2 separate regions of the Homo sapiens genome follow, and region 1 is linked to region 2. Evidence: promoter capture Hi-C in 16 types of primary human blood cells and fetal thymus (Javierre and others, 2016). All regions are on one chromosome and are shown on one strand. The core of a region is centred on a gene start or on the middle of the fragment in contact, and the rest is flanking DNA. Distances in the headings are between cores, read along the strand shown. Region 1 overlaps EIF3J (eukaryotic translation initiation factor 3 subunit J). Region 2 holds the start of TRIM69 (tripartite motif containing 69).

Region 1 (7,209 bases), core at 3,636-6,135, 190 kb before region 2:
TGGAGTCTCGCTCTGTCACCCAGGCTGGAGTGCAGTGGCACAATCTCCGCTCACTGCAAGCTCCGCCTCCCAGGTTCACTCCATTCTCCTGCCTCAGCCTCCCGAGGACTACAGGTGCCCACCACCACGCCCGGCTAATTTTTTCTATTTTTAGTAGAGACGGGGTTTCACCGTGTTAGCCAGGATGGTCTCAATCTCCTGACCTTGTGATCTGCCCGCCTTGGCCTCCCAAAGTGCTGGGATTACAGGCGTGAGCCACCACACCCGGCCCCAGTTGCTGTTTTAGTGCTAAATTTCTTTTTCTTTTTTTTTTTTTTTTTTAACTTAAAGCAATCTATCTATTCATCTAATTTTTTGAGAGAAGGTCTCACCCCGTTTCCCAGGCTGGAGTGCAGTGGCACGATCTCTGCAACCTCCGCCTCCCGGATTCAAGTGATTCTCCAGCCTCAGCCTTTCTAGTAGCTGGGATTACAGGTGTGCACCGCCGTGCCCAGCTAATTTACATATTTTTTTCTTTTTTTTTTTTTTGAGATAGAGTCTTGCTCTGTCACCCAGGCTGGAGTGCCGTGGCACGATCTTGGCTCACTGCAACCTCCGCCTCCCAGGTTCAAGCAGTTCTCTGCCTCAGCCTCCCGAGTAGCTGGGATTACAAGCGCCCACCACCACACCCAGCTAATTTTTGTATTTTTAGTAGAGACGGGGTTTCACCATCTTGGCCAGGCCGGTCTTGAACTCCTGACTTCGTGATCCACCCGCCTCGGCCTCCCAAAGTGCTGGGATTACAGACGTGAGCCACCGCGCCTGGCTATATATATATATATATATATATATATATATATTTTTTTTTTTTTTTTGTAGATACAGGGTTTCGCCATGTTACCTAGGCTGGTCTCAAACTCCTGAGGTCAAAGTGATCTTCCCGCCTCGGCCTCCCAGAGTGCTGGGATTACAGATGTGAGCCACTGCACCTGACCTATTTATTTTGAGACGGATTTGTGAGACTGGCTAATTTTTGTGTTTTTGGTAGAGGTGGAGTTTCGCCAAGTTGCCCAGGCTGGTCTCAAACTCCTGAGGTTAAAGCGATCTTCCCGCCTTGGCCTCCCAGAGTGCTGAGATTACAGGTGTGAGCCACTGCACCTGGCCTATTTATTTTGAGACAGATTTGTGAGACTGGCTAATTTTTGTGTTTTTGGTAGAGATAGAGTTTCGCCAAGTTGCCCAGGCTGGTCTCGAACTCTTGGAGTCAAGTGATCTATCCTCCTCAGCCTCCTAAAATGCTGGGATTATGGGCGTGAGCCAGCAGACTCAGCCATATCACCAAATTTCTGAATTCTTATGTTTTTGTACTTTTTATGAGGAGTTGCAGACAAGGCTTAGTTTCCGTGAGGTCTTCTGTTCATGTCAGCATCTAGTACTTAACCTTTAAAAATACAGGTTTAATGTCATTTGTAATGTCCTGGGAAATGAAAGGAAAACTGATGTTTTTGTTATTATAATTTGCTCCAGCACTTTACTCTCATTTAGTAGACTTAGTATTTTGCTGTCCTTGACTTTTCAAATAGCTGTCTGGCAGTGGCAGAAGTGGACTTAGGTGAAACTGTACAACCGTTAATATATATGGCAAGAAAAGACTATGCTTTTCCCCAGTTAAAAAGATGAGAACTCGGGAGCATAGTTTCCCATCACCCTGGCTTTATTTACCTTTTTTACTATCCTGATAGTTGTGCAGAGGTAGTGGGAAGAATTGTTCACTTGGCATATATGACTCCTTCCTCATTGCTGGTATGATATGTAGGATGTGTTGACTGAGAAGGCAGTGAGTACCTACTGGACACAAGGACAACATAACTTTTGCTCCATTTTACTAGTCTCCTAGCATTTCAGTAGAACAGTTTAGAAGCTAGATTTATTCAAAGGGTACAGAGTTTGCAGAAACTTATAGCTGTGTTCAGCCATCTCACGCATTTGCCTCTGTAACCATATAGCATTTCTTTTAAAAGATCCTGAAGAGGCTGAGGCAAGAGGATTGCGTGAGCCTAGGAGTTTGAAGCCAGCCTGGGCAACATAGCAAGACCCCAACACATTTAAAGAGAGAGCGATCCTGAAGAACAGATTTAGTTGAGCCTCTCTCGTCCTACTCATTCACTCTCTGTTAGGATCCTATTCCAATAAATAGTTTGAATCTACCAGATAGGGACAATTTTCAGGGGTTGGAAACAACTTCTAAAGAACAGGATCTGTATTTTACAGAATGTGAAATTACTAGGAAATACCCAGAAGGTGGGCATTTTGCCAGAAAATGGGTATTTTGAAGAGAGTGTGTGTATGTGTAACTTAAGAAAAATTCCAAACATGCAGTAGAGAGAAACATTTAATAAACCAGTGACCAGTCTTGTCTCCTCTGTATCCCCACTTTCCTCCTCCAACCAGATTATTTTCAAGAAAATCTCAATCATATCATTTCATACCCTGCCACTTTTATAAACTAGCAAGTTTTGAATTAGGAAGCATGTTTGTTATTGAAAAATATTTTCTTGTCATGATGGATCATTGTAAATAAACCACTTGTTTAGTGTTCAGTGTCTTGATATCGCTGAGCCAGAAATTTAAAGTAGATTGATAACTGTCCTGAATATGAGACAGGTAGGCATTGAGATGGAACTCAGCTGAGTGCTGATCCATTGTAGTATGTTAAAAGCTTAATGAATTGAATTAAATGAAGTAGAATTTACTAAGGCAGGCACCTTGGCTTCTAGGCACCCAGCATAGTTCTGAGATGGTGGAAGAACATTTTGGCTTTTAAAAAACTGAACTTTGCTGGGAAGTCTACCCTTGCCAAGATCTCGTTGCACAGTTCTGAGTTCTCTCAGAACTGCACAGCTTACAGAACACAAATTAAAGGCTTTTTTTTTCTTTCCCAGCAAGAGATTATGTTTTACCTAAACCAAATTATTTAAAGAAAAAAGGAGAAGGAGTATATGTTAGTTCCTAGGCTGTTGCTATAGGGCAAAAGAGTTTTATTGCTCGTTTGAAGCTACTTCTATTTGACAATCTATAAATACATCTTGCTTAAGTTGGAAAGCATTTTCAGCCCTAAATGTGTTCTCATTGCATGTGACATAATGTAGTTTTATATTATGAAGACAGAACCAGCTAACTACTGGCCACATTGTTAGAAATAAAAAGAAAGCAAGATATAAAGTTTTCTGCTTTGCTTCTGATACTTAGTTGTGTTCAATTAGGGAAGCAAGTTTTAAAGTTAAAAAGCAGCCATCTCTTTCATAGAAATAGCTTAAATGATGGGTGTGTATCTGCAGGGCAAGAGTATAGATAAGCAAGTAGTTTATAAACAGGCCCTATTCTAAGAAGCTAGCCATTTTAGGAGAGCAGCCTGGGTGATTCTTTTGAAGATAAATTGGATATTATAGTTGAAAGATTAATTGGCTACCAAAAATAATTGGGTAAAGGATTTAATTGGATGTTCATAGGTAGTCTCTTGAACCAAATAACCATTTAGGGCTCTTTGAAGTGAGTTGTAGACTTGCTCCCTATTTTAAGTGTTAATTTTAGCTGTTTCTCTAGGAAGCCTTTTTACATTTTATCTGAATTTGCTGCTGGAATTTACAAACTTCTAATGTTTACAAAAAATTGGGCATATTTTTTGAAGCAGCGTGGTGAACATTCTACCTTAAATCTACTTTTCAGACACTTAATTTTATAACTATGGAAACAAAAACTCTAACTTCCTGGGGAAAGCTACCTGGCCTTTTGCTTTTATAATTACATCTGTTTGGAAGTGTGACCAGTCTCTTTTTGCTGACACTTACTATGCTCCTTTCTTTAGGGGCTTAGTGCTAGTTTGGTAGTAACTTCAGGGCAGACTTGTAAGCACTTTGGGGAGAGAGTGACAGTCAAGGTTTGGATGGTCCTTTTATGAATTGAGGAGCAGATGTCATGGCTCTTCTTGGTACATGTTGATAGGAACCACTTTTTTTTTTTTTTTTTGAGATGGAGTTTCGCTGTCTCCAGGCTGGAGGGCAGTGGCGCAGTCTCGGCTTACTGCAACCTCCGCCTCCTGGGTTCAAGCGATTCTCCTGCCTCAGCCTCCCAAGTAGCTGGGACTACAGGTGTGCGCCACCACACCCAGCTAATTTTTGTATTTTTAGTAGAGATGGGGTTTCACCATGTTGGCCAGGATGGTCTCGATCTCTTGACCTCGTGATCTGCCTGCCTTGGCCTCCCAAAGTGCTGGGATTACAGGCATGAGTCACCACGCCTGGCCAGAATCACTTCTTTTGCTACTAAAATCCATTCTGTGATGGAGTAGGGAATGTCTAGGTAGCTTCATTATGTCTGCATTGATGTGTGTCTGGGGTAAGGTTTATGCTTTGATGGGAGAAACTAGGGACAGGGATAGAGGTGGACATAGAGTTGGTGTGAATGTACTGAGGGAGCAGTGATATGGGTGGGGTGGGGGTTATGTTTTTCTGGGAAGGGTAACTGAAGAGCATCAACATTAAATAAAAATGCTCCTGTGTTGAGTTTGTTTCTTTACCTTGGAGGTATTGAGATGGAGCTCCTTATTTTCAGCCATACTTCTTCCTTCTTGACCTCTTACTACCAGAGGCTTGCAGACCAGTTTTTTTCTTTTTTCTTTTCTTTTCTTTTCTTTTTTTTTTTTTTAGACGGAGGCCTTCTCTATCACCCAGGCTGGAGTGCAGTGGCGTGATCTCGGCTCACTGCAACCTCTGCCTCCCGGGTTCAAAGTGATTCTTGGGCATCAGCCTCCCGAGTAGCTGGGACCACAGGTGCACACCACCACGCCCTGCTAATTTTTTTTGTATTTTTAGTAGAAACAGGGGTTTGCCATGTTGGCCAGGCTGGTCTTGAACTCCTGAACTCAGGTATTCCACCCACCTTGGCCTTCCAAAGTGTTGGGATTACAGGCGTGAGCCAACTCATCTGGCCCAGTTTCTTAAATTAGTAGAAAACTGGCCAGGCGTGGTGGCTCACACCTGTAATCCCAACACTTTGGGAGGCTGAGGTGGGTGGATCACCTGAGGTCGGGAGTTCAGGACCAGCCTGACCAACATGGAGAAACCCATCTCTACTAAAAATACAAAATTAGCCAGTTCGTGGTAGCACATGCCTGTAATCCCAGCCACTTGGGAGGCTGAGGCAGGAGAATCGCTTGAACCCAGGAGGCAGAGGTTGCGGTGAGCTGAGATCGTGCCATTGCACTCCAGCCTGGGCAATAAGAGCAAAACTCCATTTAAAAAAAAAAAAAAAAAAAAAGGTGGGAGGGGCCAGGCACGCCTGTAATCCCAGCACTTTGGGAGGCTGAGGTGGGTGGATCACGAGGTCAAGAGATCAAGATTATCCTGGCCAACATGGTGAAACCCGGTCTCTACTAAAAACACAAAAATTAGCTAGGCATGGTGGTGCATACCTGTAGTCCCAACTACTCAGGAGGCTGAGGCAGGAAAATTGCTTGAACCTAGGAGGCGGAGGTTGCAGTGAGCTGAGATTGCGCCACTGCACTCCAGCCTGGCGACACAGTGAGACTCCATCTCAAAAAAAAAAAAAAGATCAGTAGAGAACCACTACAGGCAATTTAAGGTGAGAAGTTTGGTAACCAGTATACCTCTAGCTGGGCATATCTTAATATGTGTAATAATCCTTCTCTTTATGAGATTCCCAGAGTTCCCAGGAGAGGGACTTAGTTCCCAGTTAGTTATTTTATACTTCAGGACTCAGGGAAGAAGTCATATTTACTATAATACTATTTTTATTTTTATTATTTTGCATTGGAATTGCATTGGAATTGCTTTATTCCAGCGAATTAAATTGTTTACCAGACTGTGAATTTTGTAAGCAAGTGTTTAAAACATGCTTTTTAAAGACCTTCCTTAACATTGTGTTTAAAGCCTTAAATGAAGCTGTTTACATGTATACATTTAAAGGATGTATCTCAGCATGTTACTCTAAAGATGTGTTGTAAGCTGCTTTATTACAGTGAATTGAACTCTACTAAACCGTGAACTTTGTAAGCAAGTGTTTAAAACATGCTTTTTAAAAAAGTAAATCATTTTATTTTCAATAAAAAGGTCAGTCAAATGTTTAGTTATTTAAAACTTTTTTAAAATTAGTTTTTATAATTGGCAAATAATGTACATATTTATGGGGTATATTGTGATGTTTCAATGCATGTATACATTGTAATTACCATTTCATCACTTTAAACATTTATCATTTCTTTGTGGTGTTAACATTCAAAATTTTCTTATGGAACTATCTTGAAATATATAACATTGTTATTAGCTATAATCACCGTACTGTGTAATAGAACACCAGAACTTATTCTTCTAACTGTAACTTTATACCTATGACACTTTAAAGAACTTTGGTCCATTCAGAGCAGGTCCCTTAGTTTTTCACTGAGATTGTGGGTTGGCTATGTCTGGGCCTGGGTTTCCTTTTCTTTAAAATGGGGGAATAACACTACCTTCTTACAGGACTGTTGTGAGAATTAACCTTGTTACTACACCTGTTTCTCAGAAGGGTTTTAAATATGCATCTTCTGGAAGTAAGCAAATGGTCCTCCTATCTGAAACACTGCCCCCTATCACTCACAGATCCAGCCTTCCTGTGTTCTGTGAAGATTTAAACAACAAAAAATGCCTAGTAATTCACTTTTATTTTTAGCTCTTTGGTTCCTTTTGTACTGTGATGTATAGCACTTAGCAAACTAACGGCGAAATACAAACGTTTGATCTCTAATTTCTAACTCTAGTATCACAGTTACTCAAATAATGACTAGCTGGTTTGCTTTCAATCTGTTAAAACTGCGAGCTGTGGGTTAAATTGCTGAAGTAAGATGAATATAAAAATACACTTACTTTTTAATACAAAGTTCCTTTAATTATGCTTGCAGACTGTATGACAGCCTTAATCAGGATGTTGAATTTTTAATTTCTTTACTGGACTTAGAGATTTTTATTAAGAACCAAGGCTTGGTTAGTTTATATTCCTAGACTGATACAAATTTGTGATCTGTCGTGTTATGAAACCAGAAGCTTGGTGTCATATTGTGGCATATTAGTCATACTAGTCAGCCTTTGCTTCTTTAGTAGCATCAGGGCCTCTTGCCCTGCTTTTGCCATCTTGCCACTCAGCTTCAAATGGCATGTCATAGTGTGCCTGGTGGCT
Region 2 (7,030 bases), core at 2,186-4,685:
TGGGACTACAGGCACCCACCACCACGCCCCGCTAATTTTTTTGTATTTTTAGTAGAGATGGGGTTTCACCGTGTTAGCCATGATGGTCTCCATCTCCTGACCTTGTGACCTGCCTGCCTCGGCCCCCCAAAGGGCTGGGATTACAGGCGTGAGCCACCGCACCCAGCCACTTTCTCTTGATAAGAAGACCACTGACTATGGGCTGGTTCTGGCCAGTTTATAGAGGCTAAGCACCCTTGTTCCTTCCTGTCCTGAACAGGCATTTTGACTTATAGGGTCTAATTGTTATGCATTTAAGTGTTAAGTCTCCACCTTAGGCCTGGCGTGGTGGCTCACGCCTGTAATCCCAGCACTTTGGGAGGCTGAGGTGGGTGAATCACTTGAGGTCAGGAGTTTGAGACCAGCCTGGCCAACATGGCAAAACCCCGTCTCTACTAAAAATACAAAATTAGCTGAGTGTGGTGGTGCACGCCTGTAATCCCAGCTACTTGGGAGACTGAGGAAGGAGAATCATTTGAACCTCAGAGGCAGAGATTGCAGTGAGCTGAGATGGCGCCACTGCACTCCAGTCTGGGTGACAGAGTAAGACTCCGTCGCGAAAAACAAAAAACAAACAATAACAACAACAAAAAGAGTTAAGTCTCCACCTCAAAGTGAACATGGGTTGTATGTTACATGCATGTTTGTTCAATAAGCATGAGTCAGGATGACCTTCATAATTATTCATAGCTCCTCCTGTAACCTGTTGAATATGTATGTTTAGCCAACCTATTCAGCATCAAGTTCCTACCCCTGCTCCTCCTTTGAAGTGCCTGTCTCTGGTCTTTGCCAGAGATTGTACTTCCTGGCCTGTGGGATGGCCACCTTGCAGGCCTTTAACGCTTTATAAGAAATAAAGTCTCCTCTCCAAATTTATGGATGTTGTGAGTTCTGTGTTAACAAAGTAGAGAGAAGGAATTTGGGAGACTGACAACTTTGCAAACCAGAGCCACTATAGAAGTTTGGACTTTTACTTAAGAGAGAAATAAATTTCATTCTTGCTTAAGCAACTTTTATACTGGGTATATTAGTCAGGTTGACATACAAAATTAACCATCACTCTGGGTCTCGTTTACAGCAATGGAATTTTTTTATTTTTTATTTTTATTTTTTGAGACAAGGTCTTACTCTGTCAACCATGCTGGAGTGCAGGGATATGATCATGGCTTACTGCAGCCTCGACCTCCTGGGCGCAAATGATCCTCCCACCTCAGCCTCCTGAGTAGCTGGCACCACAGGCACGTGCCAACATGCCTGGCTAATTTTTAAATTTTTTGTAGGGACAGGGTCTCGCCATCTTGCCCAGGCTGGTCTTGAACTCCTGGGCTCAGGTGATCCTCCCACCTTGGCCCCCCAAAGTGCTGAGATTACAGGCATGAGCCACCATGCCTGGACACTGTTTTTAAATAGTGAAAAAAAGACTTGAAGTACTCTTTGTGAAGATTGAGACTTCTTGCTACATAGGATTTGGAATCACAGGCTTCTAGAGACAGAAGGGGGTCTTAGGAATTCACATTTTAAAGAAGGAGGAACTGACACCCATAGGAGTTAAATGTCTTAGCTAAGGCTATTCAGTGCTCTGGTGGTGAGAGACAAGGCTTCCATCTTCTAGGCCAGTACTCTTACCCCTAGGCTAAAGGTTCAAAAATGTGCAGGCGCTGGCTTTAGTAAAATCAGCTATACTAAGCATTGTCAAATGTTTTAGCCAACAACAAAAACAATCAAGATGAAACAAAATTACTTTTTTGACTAAGTGATCACCAGCATTTCATAGACATTTATCTGACAAAGGTTTTGATCTAACAAATGCCATGTATTGCCAAGGTGAGCAAGATACAGTACTACCTATCCTGTGGTTTGTTCACAACTTAGTGGAGGGGCAGACATGCAATCAAACAATTAGAATACACTCTGTTAAAGCCACGTGTACAAAGATCTAGGGTGCTATAGAAATGTGTAAAACTAGGCCAGGCGTGGTGTTGCTCACACCTGTAATCCTAGCACTTTGTGAGGCTGAGGTGGGAGGACAGCTTGAGCTCAGAAATTTGAGATCAGCCTAGGCAACATAGTGAGACCCTGTCAGAAAGAAAAGAAAAAAGAAAAGAAAAGAAGGAAAGAAAGAGAAAGAGAAAGAAAGGGAGAAAGAAAGAAAGAGAGCAAGAGAGAAAGAAAGAGGAAAAAGAAAGGAAGAAAGAGAAAGAAACAGAGAGAGAAAGAAAGGGAGAAAGAAAACAGAAAGAGAGAGAAAGAAAGAAAGAGAAAGAAAAAAAGAAAGAGGAAAGAAGGAAGGAAGGAAGGAAGGAAGGAAAGAAGGAAGGAAGGAAGGAAGGAAGGAAGGAAGGAAGGAAGGGAGTAAAGCTGTGTTTCTCAACTGGGGAGTGATTCCAACCCCTGCCCCCAGGAGACATTTGGCAATGACTGGAGACATTTTTGTTATGACTGGGTTTGGTGGGGGGGGGGTGGCTACAGGCATCTAGTGTGTAAACGCCAGGGACACTGCTAAATATCCTAAAATTCACAGGACAGCCCCTCTAACGTAAGACTTAGCAGGCCCAAAATATCAATAGGGCTGAGGTTGGTAACCTCTGGTATAGAGCCAGCAAAATATCTTCTACAAGAGACAGGGAAGTGGGTAAAGCTTGGTTTGGGGATGAGGGGGTGGTTAGGGAAGAGTTTAGTAAAGAGATAATGACGGGGGTGTGGGGGAAGGGAAACTCCCATCCGAAGGGACAACATATACAAAGCTGCAGAAGCGTGACATATTTGGGCGATCCCAAACACTGGGGAAAGAGCTGTGGTCATTAAGTCTGGACAGCTAGGCAGGAGCTAGACGTGCAAGAAATCATATTGAGTTAGAGGAACTACTGTAAGAAAAACTGTTTGGCTCTGTGGTGGCTCTTTATAAGTCACTCAGGAGCACAGTGTTGGTACATCTCTCTGCGAGCTAAAACTGCTGAAGAAAGCTGTATGAAATGAAGCTTTTTTCATCCTGCTTTCTTAGGGCCTGGTGTTTCCCAGGCCTGTGTTACTGTCTCAGAGATAAAATCAGGGCTGCTTCATTGGAATATGAGAGGTGAACTAGCTCTCTATTAAAGCCACTCAGCTGGTGTCTTGATGGTGTGATGGGATCATGAACAGGGGTGAGGTGGTTATTTTTCATGAGTTAGGCTTAATATAGGCTGCTGCTGACGTGTATTTCCTCTTTCATAGAGCATCCTTAGTCCAGAAATGGGGAGCTATGAACCTTAAGATTAGACCACTAACTCGAATCTAAATGAGCTGCCCTTGTCTCCTACAAAAGAAAAGTTGGGCAGGTAGGGTATTCTAATGAGGGTTTCTCTTTCTCTTAAGCAAATGATGATCAAAGTTAACTGACAAACTGTCACGGAATCTGCCAGACCTCACTCTGGCCTTGCTGCTTCTCTCCAGCTCCTGAACTTTTCTTTCTTCCATCATGCTCTGAGCCCATTCCTTGAAAACTAAAAGGTCCCTGACTCCCAGTCTGCAGCCATCCTGGGCCTGCTGAGCTCTGATTCAAGTGCCTGCCTCTGCCCCTTGGTGGGCTGAAGCTTCATGGAGGTGAGTGACCCTTTTTTTTTTTAACTTAGCAGGGCTTCTAGGAATAGTGTGGAAAACAGGATCATAGAAGAGGATATGGATTTAGGAGCACAAAAGGAAATTCATGAAGGGAAGTATTTAACTTGTGACAGCTGGTAGCTACTATACTCTCTCCAAGCCTTGGAATAACTGATAATTTATACTAGAGAAGCTGGTAGGAAAGTAATGAAATCCACCAAAACATTTTGAGAAAAAATAAACTATATACTATATACAATTTACTTTCATTATCAATGTAATCATTTTATTTTAGATTTAAAAATTATTATGTATAACTTGGTTTGCTTACAATACCTTCACATTTGATTATTTTATATTTAAGGCAGAGTTGATACTTAGATAGTAAACATTTTTAATTGAATTCTTCCTTTAAGACCTCTTCAGAGCTAAAATAAAGGAAGTTATGTTCTTCTGAACTTAGTGTTTTCCTGATTGTCAAACAAAAGAAAATGGTTATTTACTACATGAAAGCTTGAAAAACTCACTAAGGGTTTTTCAGGGGCCCTTGAATCCTGAGTTATCATCCATTTCCACTAGTTTCCACTTCTTATAAAGTTTAATTTCATTATATTAATCATTAAGATCAGTTTCTAATTTCCTCTATCATAGGACCTTTAGGTTTGCTGCTACTCATCTCTGTGCTTAGCTATTGAAGCAAACAGGGCTATAAGCATTTTGTTTATAATTTCTAGGGCAAAAATAAACACTATTGCCTAAACCTACTATATTCTTATTACTTTAAGGCCAAGTCAGTGAAAATAGACACTTTTCCATAATAGTAAAAAAATTGTTTGTGTGATAGTGAGTTTCCCATTACTTCAGATGTTCAGGCAGAGGTTGGAAAGGAGTGAATTAAATGGCTTAAAATTTCTTTCAACTCTGGGAAGCTCCAAGAAGTCAGAAAGTTCAGAATCTTGCCTTCTTATGTGCAAATGGCTTGACTCGTGAAGCAGGAGTGTGTCTTGCTCTTAGGTTTAAGCTGGCTGTGCTATATAGTTTGTCTCTGTGGATGAACTGTATTTTTCTGCTCTCAAAGTTAATTCTTCATAAAAACTGCCCATCAAAGTTTAAAAATTACTTTGAAGGAATAAAGGTTGAAAAGCAACAAATGAACTCTCCTTAGATATCTTAACTATGATTTCAAAAATTTACAACACAAAACTTCTCAGGAAAAAAAAATCTCTGGTAAAAATTAAGGATTTCTTATGCAAGCTTCCATGGACTTCATAGCTCTTTGCCTTTTCTCTGCTCTTTGAGAATGTGCACAGTGAACTGAAGGAGGAAGATACATACTTTCTTTCTTTCTTTTTTTTTTTTTTTTTTTTTTAGGACAGAGTCTCACTCTCTTGCTCAGGCTGGAGTGCAGTGGCACCATCTCAGCTCACTGCAACCTCCGCTTCCAGGGTTCAAGTGATTCTCATGCCTCAGCATCCCAAATAGCTGGGACTGCAGGGACGCACCACCACGCCTGGCTAATTTTTGTATTATTATTTTTTTTTTTAGTAGAGATGAGGTCTCACCATGTTACCCAGGCTTGTCTCCAACTCCTGACCTCAGGTGATCCTCCTGCCTCAGCCTCCCAAAGTGAGGCTAAGATTACAGGCCTGGGCCATCGTGACCTGCTGATGTGCTTTCTTATAAAGTGATTCCTGCCAGCCAGGGCTTTATAAGGATGAATATCAATTCCTGACTCGAGTTTCTCTCTCTCTGCCTTAAGGTTAGACTTCTTCCCCTAAAAGGGGCTGGCAGTAGATGTGTTTCCTAAAAGATTTCCAGGTCCAGAAATTTTAGACTCTCATTTGGTTTCCAATTCTATAGCTCCCTCTAGAGCAGTAGGAAGTTATTGCAGATATTTTGCTTCACAAATTTGATCCATTTAATAAATTCAATTCCACAAAACATATTGATGGGCTCTCTGCTGACTCAGTGGTTAATAGGCTTTGGGGTCAAATAAAGAGTTCAAATCTGAGACCCACTACTTAATAATTGTGACTCTGGGAAGATACTTGAAGCAATCTGAGCTTCAGTTTCCTTAAAATATGTAGTAATAATACGTATTTCATAGGGTTGTTCTGAGATTAAATGAAATAATGTATGTAAATCCTCTTCCACAGTGAATGCTCAGTAAATATTAGCTAATATAATTAATCCCTTGTTTTACAGAAAAGGATATATTATTGAAAGTCAGGGGAATTGGCAAACCCTCAGCTAGCAAGATGAATTAACCATATAAAACCAGTCAATCATATAATATCAATAATTAATAACATTAAATATATTTTCATATCATATAACTCACCCTTTTGAAGTTTACAATTCAGTGATTTATAGCATATTCACAAAGTTGTACAATTATCACCACTATCTAATTCCAGAACATTTTCATTATCCCCAAAAGAAATTCCATACCCATTATCAGTCACTTCCCGTTCCTCTTTGCCCTGCCTTGGTAACCGCTATATATTTTAAACATACTTTAAAAACACACGGAGGGGGCAGCCAAGATGGCTGAATAGGAACAGCTCTGGTCTACAGCTCCCAGCGTGAGCGATGCAGAAGACGGGTGATTTCTGCATTTCCATCTGAGGTACCAGTTTCATCTCACTAGGGAGTGCCAGACAGTGGGCGCAGGACAGTGGGTGCAGCGCACCGTGCGTGAGCCGAAGCAGGGCGAGGCATTGCCTCACTCGGGAAGCGCAAGGGGTCAGGGAGGTCCCTTTCCTAGTCAAAGAAAGGGGTGACAGACGGCACCTGGAAAATTGGGTCACTCCCACCCTAATACTGTGCTTTTCCGACGGGCTTAAAGAACGGTGCACCAGGAGATTATATCCTGCACCTGGCTCGGAGGGCCCTACGCCCATGGAGTCTCGCTGATTGCTAGCACAGCAGTCTGAGATCAAACTGCAAGGCGGCAGCGAGGCTGTGGGAGGGGCGCCCACCATTGCCCAGGCTTGCTTAGGTAAACAAAGCAGCCGGGAAGCTCGAACTGGGTGGAGCCCACCACAGCTCAAGGAGGCCTGCCTGCCTCTGTAGGCTCCACCTCTGGGGGCAGGGCACAGACAAACAAAAAGACATCAGTAACCTCTGCAGACTTAAATGTCCCTGTCTGACAGCTTTGAAGAGAGCAGTGGTTCTCCCAGCACGCAGCTGGAGATCTGAGAATGGGCAGACTGCCTCCTCAAGTGGGTCCCTGACCCCTGACCCCCTAGCAGCCTAACTGGGAGGCACCCCCAAGTAGGGGCAGACTGACACCTCACATGGCCGGGTACTCCTCTGAGACAAAACTTCCAGAGGAATGATCGACAGCAGCATTCGCGGTTCACGAAAATCCACTGTTCTGCAGCCACCGCTGCTGATACCCAGGCAAACAGGG

Evidence for each region. Contacts are between HindIII fragments. The CHiCAGO score rates a contact against its expected background, and 5 or more counts as called.
Region 1: a fragment that was not itself captured here is called in contact with the fragment with the promoter of TRIM69 in region 2 in 5 of 17 cell types (naive CD4 T cells, activated CD4 T cells, naive CD8 T cells and 2 more); the score reaches 7.5 in naive CD4 T cells.

What each region holds. Positions count from the first base shown.
Region 1 is chr15:44,539,430-44,546,638 of GRCh38, forward strand. All of the region lies in intron 2 of EIF3J (eukaryotic translation initiation factor 3 subunit J), which reads left to right. Among named protein-coding and RNA genes, the nearest start is that of EIF3J, 5.9 kb to the left of the region's middle. The HindIII fragment of the contact is 4,378 bases long and covers 2,697-7,074 here.
Region 2 is chr15:44,733,093-44,740,122 of GRCh38, forward strand. TRIM69 (tripartite motif containing 69) reads left to right here and starts at 3,436. Exons shown (of 7, transcript NM_182985.5): 1 at 3,436-3,618. The coding sequence starts at 3,613. The HindIII fragment of the contact is 591 bases long and covers 3,016-3,606 here.